Regions from separate parts of the Homo sapiens genome. Here region 2 is linked to region 1. The links are contacts of gene promoters, found by promoter capture Hi-C in human tissues and cell types (Jung and others, 2019). All regions are on one chromosome and are shown on one strand. Each heading gives the region's core, a stretch centred on a gene start or on the middle of the fragment in contact. The rest is flanking DNA. Distances are from core to core; before and after follow the strand shown. Region 1 holds the start of RFPL2 (ret finger protein like 2). Region 2 overlaps SLC5A4 (solute carrier family 5 member 4).

What was found. Contacts are between HindIII fragments. The study calls those that stand out against the background at their distance.
Region 2: a contact is called between a fragment that was not itself captured here and the fragment with the promoter of RFPL2 in region 1, in 6 of the 25 tissues and cell types used here (dorsolateral prefrontal cortex, lymphoblastoid cells, mesenchymal stem cells and 3 more).

Annotation. Positions count from the first base shown.
Region 1 is chr22:32,203,078-32,207,296 of GRCh38, reverse strand. It overlaps RFPL2 (ret finger protein like 2), which reads left to right and starts at 2,224. Exons shown (of 5, transcript NM_001394555.1): 1 at 2,224-2,590. SLC5A4-AS1 (SLC5A4 antisense RNA 1) reads right to left here and starts at 2,182. Exons shown (of 4, transcript NR_149072.1): 1 at 2,050-2,182; 2 at 21-161. RefSeq lists an enhancer at 50-780. The HindIII fragment of the contact is 14,140 bases long and covers 1-4,219 here.
Region 2 is chr22:32,241,741-32,245,959 of GRCh38, reverse strand. The region is part of intron 5 of SLC5A4 (solute carrier family 5 member 4); the gene reads left to right. All of the region lies in intron 2 of SLC5A4-AS1 (SLC5A4 antisense RNA 1), which reads right to left. Among named protein-coding and RNA genes, the nearest start is that of SLC5A4, 11 kb to the left of the region's middle. The HindIII fragment of the contact is 9,090 bases long and covers 1-4,219 here.

The DNA of each region.
Region 1 (4,219 bases), core at 975-3,474:
CTCCATTGCTGCTCTCCTACCGCTCTGGTGCTCTGTAGTCTCCATCGCCACCACCAACCACAGCAAGGTGAGCTGCGGTGCCCCCAGCTCCAGCCTCCAGCATGGAATAAGTGGCTCCTCCTCCTGGCACGGAGCAACTGGGCAGGCAAAGTCAGATAAGCCTAGAACAGGATGCAGAGAGTGGTAGCATTAGAGTCTCACCTTGTCATGCTGGCCACTAGGTGGCAGGGGCCAGTTTTAGCAAAGGCACTCACACCTACCCTCCAAAGCCCAGCCTCCCTTTTTGGCCCAAGTTCACCAGGAACTGGGGCCTGGGGTGGGGACTGGAGACACCACAGTACAGCGTCCGGGCTTCCCACTCGGCACGAATCGCTGGGCCCACCCCTGGCTGCGCTCCTCAGGAAGCAGAAGCAGCAGAAACTCAACCCCAGCCAGCCCTCCCCACCCAAGTGCCGGTACCTCTTCCTGACACCTCCACCCACAGGGCCCTGTCACTCCATGATGTCCGCTACTGTGTGCCCAGGGGTCCCAGACGGTCTCAGCAACACATGGTGAGAGGGCGCGCGCCTGGGAACCACAGCAGGTCTAGGGGCCGGGCCGTGCTCAGGATCCCCGCAGAAATGCTGTGTGCTGGCCAGGAGCAGAAGGAGATGGCCCTCTAGAGACTGGAGTCCCTCTCACCTCCTCTGACCACCGCTGTCACTGACACCTCCGCTGCCCACCACCAGGGGGACGGTGCAGCCCCCGATAGCGCCCCCGACCCTCCCCCACAGCTGGCAGTGTAGCACCAGATGGCAACCCCAACCCGCCCCTGCCTCGGACACTGCAGCACCAATGGCACCCGCAACCCACCCCCTGCCTTGGGCAGCGCAGCCCGGGATAGCGCCCCCAACCCGCTCCCTGCCGTAGGCAGTGGCTGTAGACAGTGTAGCCATGGGTAGCGACCCCAACCAGACCCCTGCCGTGGGCAGTGATGCCCCGATATGGCACCCAAATCGCCCCCTACCCCGGGCAGTGCAACCCTGGATAGTGCCCCTACCTGCTCCCCACCAGGAGAAGCAGCCCAGGATAGCACCCTCAACCCACTTCCTGCCTCCAGGCAGTGCAGCCACAGATAGCACCCAAACTTACTCCCCACCTCGGGCAGTGCGGCCACAGACAGCTCACCTAAACCACCCCCTGCCAAGGGCAGTGTAGCCCCCTATAGTGCACCCAACCTGCCCCTGCTGCAGCCAGTGCAGCCCCAGATAGCACACCCACCCGCTCCCTGCTAGGCAGTACAGACCCCTGATAGCACCCAACCCACCCCTCCACCGCAGGCAGTGTACCCGGCCCTCAATAGCGCCCCCAACCAACGCCCCCACCCCCTCTCCATGGGCAGTCCAGCCCCGGTACCAATCCCAACAACCCCCCGCTACCTGTCTCAGTGTAGCCCCCAGAGAGCGCCCTCAACAACCCCCTCCCCACTGCCAGCAGTGTAGCACCCTATAGTGACCCTAACCCGTCCCCCACCACCAGCATTGCAGCCCCAAATAGTGCCCCCAACCCGCTCCCCACTGTGGGCAGTGCAGCCATGGATAGTGTCCCCAACCAGCTCCCAGATGCAGGCAATGATGCCCTGGATATCACGCCCGCCCCCGTCCCCCACAGGCAGAGTAGCACCGGATAGCAGCACCCACCCTCGCCACCAGCAGTGTTGCACCCACCAGCCCCCCACAACCTGTCCCCAACAAGGGCATCAGGGCATTGCAGCACCTGATAGTTCTACTAACTCACCCCCGCCCCCCGGCCGCGGGCAGTGCATCCCCAGATAGTGCCCCCAAAACTCCCCACTGCCGCAGGAATTACAGCTTCGGATAGCGCCCCAACCCATCTCCAGCCATAGGCTGGATAGCGCCCCCGGATAGCGCCCCCACCCCACTCCCCTCAGCGGGCAGTGACGCCCGAGGTACCACACTCAAGCAGCCCCCCAACACGGGCAGTGACGCCCTGGATAGGGCCCCCAACCCGCCCCCCACGCCACAGGCAGTACGGCCTGGGATAACGAACCTATTCTGCCACCTTTTCACCATTCTGGCTGCGCTGTAGTCACCCTCGCGGCCACCAACCGCAGCAGCGAGGTGAGCCACTGTAGGCTCCAGCCTCCAGCATGCGCGGTAGATGACTCTAGCCTCTGGCATGCGCGGCAAGTGGCTCCTCCTCCTTCTCCTCTAAGCCGGGCACAGAGCAGCTACGCAGGCCGACGCAGATGAGCCTGGAAGGGCAAGCCACCCCTCTTGGCATCCTTTATATACTGAGTTTAATGCAAATGAAGTTTCTCGACTACATAGTCTGATCGGATGAGAGAAACCTCTAGGCCTACTCTGATCGGGCTTTGTTATCTTGTTCTGATTGGTTATCCTAAGACTTGCTGTCATCCAGTCAGAACGTGAAAATAAAGCACAATCAGAGTAGACCTAGAGGTTTTTCTCTCATCCAATCTGAACATGTAGTCCAGAAACCTTACTTGCATAACCTCGGTCTGTGGGGGGAGGGGTTCTTGCCATTCCAGGCACTTCTGCGTCTGCCAGCCCATCTGCTCCATGCCCAGGTTAGAGGAGGAGTCACCTGTCCCACGCTGGAGGCTTGAAAGCCTGCAGCAGCATGGCTCGGCTCGCTGCCGTTGGTGGCGGTGAGGGAGACTAGACCGCAGCCAGAATGTAGAAAGGTGGCGGGGTGGATGAGCTATCCAGGGCTCACTGCCTGCGGCAGGGGGCGGGGAGGGGGACAGGTTGGATGCACGATCTGGAGCTGCACTGCCCGAGGTGGGAGCGGGGGCGGATTGAGGGCGCCATCGTGGGCTACAACCCGGTGGTGGGAGGCGTGTTAGGGGCAGTATTGGGTGCTGCACTGCCTACAGCACGGGAAGGTTGGGTGCTTTACCGGACGTCATTTCCCGCAGCCGCGGGGTGGCTTGCTGGGGGCGCTATCCGTGGCTGCACTGGTCGCGCTGGGGTACGGGTTGGGGGCGCTATCTGGGACATCAGTGCGCATGGCAGGGAACTTGTTGGCTGTGATATCCGAGGCGTCACTGCCCTTGGCTGGGGGCTGGTTGGGGGCTCTATCTATGGGCTACACTGCCTACAGCCAGGAGCGTGTTGGGGCGTTATCGGGGCGGACTGCCAGTGGCGGGGGTGGGGGTGCGGGTTGGGTGCTATCGGGGGGCTTCACTGCCTGGCAGGGAGTGGATTGGGTGCGCTATTTGGGGTTGGACTGCCGGCGGTGGTTGACTCGGTGGGAGGAGAGGGGCAGAGGGAATGGGTTGGATGCACTATCGGGAGCTACACTGCCCGAGGCGAGGGGGAGATGGGGGCGCCATCGTTGGCTACACCGCATGTAGTGGGGGGCGTGTAAGGAGCAGTAGTGCGTGTTGCATTGCTCATGGCGGGGGAGGGTTGGGTGCGTTATCCCGGGCGTCATTTCCCACAGCGGCGGGGGTCAGTGGAGGGGCTTGTTGAGGGCGCTATCCATGGCTGCACTGGTCGCTGAGGGGCAAGGATTGGGGGCGCTACCTGGGACATCAGTGCCATGGTGGGGAACTTGTTGGGTGTGTTATCCGAGGCATCACTCCCCATGGCTGGGGGCTGGTTGGGGGCGCTACCCATGGGCTGCACTGCCCACAGCCAGGAGCGTGTATGGGACATTATCGGGGGCGGACTGCCAGTGGCTGGGTGGGGAGGCGGGTTGGATGCTATGTGGGGTTGCACTGCCCAGCAGGGAGTGAGTTCGGTGCGCTATCTGGGGTTGCACTGCCGGCGGTGGGTGGCAGATTGGGTGCCCTATCGCTACACTGCCGCGGCGAGTACCGGGTTGGCGGCGCTATCCTGGGCTACACCGCCGGTGGCGGGAGGCGTTTTAGGGGCGCTATCTGGTGCTGCACTGCCCGCGCAGGAGTTGGGTTGGGTGACCTACTCCAGGCGTCACTGCCCGAGGCTGGGGGCTGATTTGGGGCGCTATCCCGGGAGTCATTTCCTGTGGCGAGGGGCTGGTTGAGGGTGGTATCCGTGGCTGCACTGCCCACAGCACAGAGCGGGTTTGGGGAGTTATCCCGGGCTGCGCTGCCCGTGGCAGGGGGCAGGCTGCCAGCGCCATTGGGTGCTGCATGTACTAGGCACGGATGAGTTAGGGGCGCCATCTGGGACTGCACTGCCGGTGGCGGGCGGTGGAGGTGTCAGTGACA
Region 2 (4,219 bases), core at 1,015-3,514, 39 kb before region 1:
GCGAGGCAGAGGGAAGCAGAGAAGCTCACAGGTGTCAGGGGCTTAGAGTTCACACGTCTCTTAAATCGTTGGACTTGCTAGTCTCCCAATTGTCCTCTGGTGCTGACATCTACAGCTTTACAGTTCTGAAGAGCATGAGCAGGCCGGGCGCAGTGGCTCACGCCTGTAATCCCAACACTCTGGGAGGCCGAGGCAGGCAGATCATGAGGTCAAGAGATGGAGACCATCCTGACCAACATGGTGAAACCTCGTCTCTACTAAACATACAAAAATTAGCTGGGCATTGTGGCATGCACCTGTAGTCCCAGCTACTCAGGAGGCTGAGGCAGGAGAATTGCTTGAACCCGGGAGGCAGAGGTTGCAGTGAACCGAGATCGCGCGACTGCACTCCGGCCTAGTGACAAGAGCGAGACTCCGTCTCAAAAAAGTAGATAAATAAAATTTTTATTTAAAAAAGAGCATGAGAAGGCATGAAGGCATAGAACAGAGGACAATGCACAGTGAAAAGGGGCCCCCGAAGGATGCAACCTCCCAGACTGGAGGGTCACTGGTGGATGGGGAGGGACAGAATGTTGGTGAGCTAGGTGTGGGTGCAGGGAAGCCATGTGCAGGTCTGTGGCTGTGCAGAGTCTGTGGCTGGCTGGAAAGACACCTTAGCAGGAGTCCATTCTTGCCTGCAGGTTTATGTCTTAAGTGACATTAATAATGATTAACCTTAGACATGACCTTTTGTGTACTCTTACACTCTGACACACGGATTGTCTCCTAGTTACTTATTAAACAGATCGTTATGAGACGTTAGGACAGGACAGTTTTCATAACTCTCCTCTGCCCAGGTTGGAAAAAGATCATCTTGTTCACTGGTTCTCAACCTGCAATAACATATGTATTGAGATTTGATATAAACTATTATCTAATCTACAGTCTTTATTCAGATATTGACTATTGTTTTAATACAGTCCTTTATAGCAAAAGAAAATCCTGATCCTTGCAATTCCTCTTTATTATGAGAAATATTTTACAGTCATTGTTAGTGTAATTAATGCCACTGAATTATATACTTAAATGGTTAAAATGGTAAATTTTATGTCATATATGTTTCATCACAATAAAAGAAAAATGTCATTGATGGCTGAGCCCAGTGACTTCTGCCTGTAATCCCAGCACTTTGGGAGGCTGAGGCAGGAGGATCACTGGAGGCCAGGAGTTCCAGACCTGCCTGGGCTAAATAGTGAGACCCTTATCTCTACCAAAAAAAAAATTATTTAGCCAGGTATGGGGGCACACATTTATTGTCCCAGCTACTTTGGCTGAGGCAGAAGGATCACTTGAACCCAGGAGCTAAGTTATAATGAGCTAAGATCATGCCATTGCACCACAGCGTGAGTGACCTGGAGTAGTCCCTATTTCTTTAGGAAAAAATTCATTGATAATATGTCAACTACTTACATACAATTTTAAAACCATGGATTTAATTCCTTAATAGTACTATATAATAGAAACAAAGGTCAAAGAATCCATAATAAGATAGTGTGTTTTAATATGAAAATGATTAAGTAGAACTACACATGAAGTCAAAATGCTGTGGTGTAATACTCGCCCCTCTGTGGATGAGGATAAAGCAGTATGAGTGAAGACAGCTATAAATGCAGGCAGAGGCAGATATCACACGTGGCACCTCCACAGGTAACACTCTTTTTCTGAAATGCTGAACATTTTTTTAAAAGTGAAATCTTCCCTCAATATTAGTTGGTATTCCTGGGAAACCCCAATGTGCAATAGAGTTACAGAAAGTACTTTGCATTTGTACAACCGAGTTGGGATCTAGGCTCAGAAAATCAAGAACAGGTTTTTGGCCAACATCAGTATCGCATGGGATGATAAAATGTCAGATTTTATTTCAAATCTTAGAGAAAAATACAACCGTCTCCTGCTACACCTGTTTCTAGCCCCAACTTCAACACAGAAACAGAGACAGAGTCTCACTCTATCTTCCAGGCTGGAGTGCAGTGGCACAATCTCAGCTCACTGCAACCTCTGCCTCCCAGGTTCAAGTGATTCTCCTGCCTCAGCCTCCCCAGTAGCCAGGATTACAGGCATGCACCAACACGCTCGGCTAATTTTTTTCTATTTTTAGTAGAGATGGGGTTTCACCATGTTGGCTAGGCTGGGCTCAAACTCCTGACCTCAAATGATCCACCCTGCTTGGCCTCCCAAAGTGTCTCTCATATGTTTTTAACTATTTGAAATTGTTACATATGTCATTGCCCTTTAACCCCAATAATTTCAATGTAAAATTTCCCCCAGATTTAACACTCATTGATGATTCTACCTGATCCAGTGATTTTTACCTGATCCAGTCTTTACTGTGGCAGTGTAAAATGATGGTTTTTTAAACTGAGCCTTCCCTGTATATTGTTATTCCTAGGAGCAGGGATAATTTCTTGCAAAACCAATTGGAATTATCAACTCAAGTAAACATAACATGGATACACTAATCTACCATTTAAATTCCAACTTTGTAAATTGACCCAGTAATACCTTTTTTAATCATCTTTTCTTCTCCAGTACAGGATGCGGTCTAGGGTCAGGTACTACATTCACTTGCCAAGTGTCTTTAGCCTCCTTTCATCTGGAACATTTCCATACCCTTTTTCTGTCTTTGATGATACTGACAATTTGAAGGATAGAGTCCCTACTCCACCCTTCTTAATATGACAATTTTTCTTTTGGATTTGCCTGATATTTCTTCATGGTTGGATTCACGTTATGCATTCTTCTTGGCTGGAATACTGCATAAGTGATGTATCCTACTAAAAGTATCCTATCTAGAAGCATTCAATGCCCGTCTGTTCCTCAATGGTGATGTTAATTTTAATCACCTGGTCAAAGTATTGCCCAGTTTCTCCACTATAGAATTACTGTTTTATTTTCCCCTGTAACCAATAAGCAGTCTGTGACAGATCCTTTAAACCACTGAAATATCCAGTTCCTCTTCAAATTTTTCCACTAGATTTAGCATTCATAAATGGTTCTTATCAGATCCAATCTTTACTATGATGGTTGCCAAATAATAATTTTCCAAAACTCCTAGCACTCCTTCCACAGTTCCCAGACAGCATTCAGCAGGCTACTGAGGGCAGGAGTCTTCCCTTCTCTATTTATCTATTACTGATATGGACTGATACATTCCTATTTATCATTGGTTTACCAATATTATTATATGCAGTTATTTTGATACTTTTTTTTTTGAGACGGAGTCTCACTCTGTCGCCCAGGCTGGAGTGCAGTGGTGTGACCTCAGTTCACTGCAACCTCTGCCTGCCAGGTTCAAGCAATTCTCCTGCCTCAGCCTCCTAAGTAGCTGGGACTACAGGCACGCGCCACCATACCTGGCTAATTTTTTGTATTTTTAGTAGAGATAGGGTTTCGCCATGCTTGTCAGGCTGGTCTCGAACTCCTGATCTCGTGATCTGCCCGCCTTGGCCTCCCAAAGTGCTGGGATTACAGGCATGAGCCACCACGCCCAGCCAGTTATTTTGATACTTACACCACATTTGGCCAGTGAGAGTTCCTCAAACTGGATTCTGTGTAAAGGATGGGGCATGATCCCATCATTTTGTTGGGCAATTTCTTAAATTCTGGCCTAACAAAATGTTTCAGACTCATCTTGTACCAGCCCTGCTCCAGTCCTGGAGTCACCTATTTTTCTGGGAGAGCCCTGGCTCCTTTAGTGGGGAGGGGTATTAGAAACAAAAATCTGCGTGCTAAGTGTGCTTATTGGGTGGACTTTTTTTCTTGACTATTTTAGCTGACATCATTAGGAAATAAATGCATACATACACACATGTAAATGCCCACACATAAATAGATATATTCACACACACACATACATATACTTTCTAGGCAGCTATACACGTACATATACAGTTTAGAAATCATGAGTTCACACTAATATCTCCAATTCCAGTCCAGCTCTATAGAGTATTTTATTGCCTTCTGCAATTCTATATTTATATGTTCCCTCTTCCACAACTGAGAATCCTGGCCCTCCAAGTCATCAACATACATACATATATATATACACACATATATATACACACACACACACACACACACAGATATATATATACACACACACATACAGATATATATACACACACACACACACACACACACACACATATATATATGTAAAATTTGTTTGCTCAATCCTATA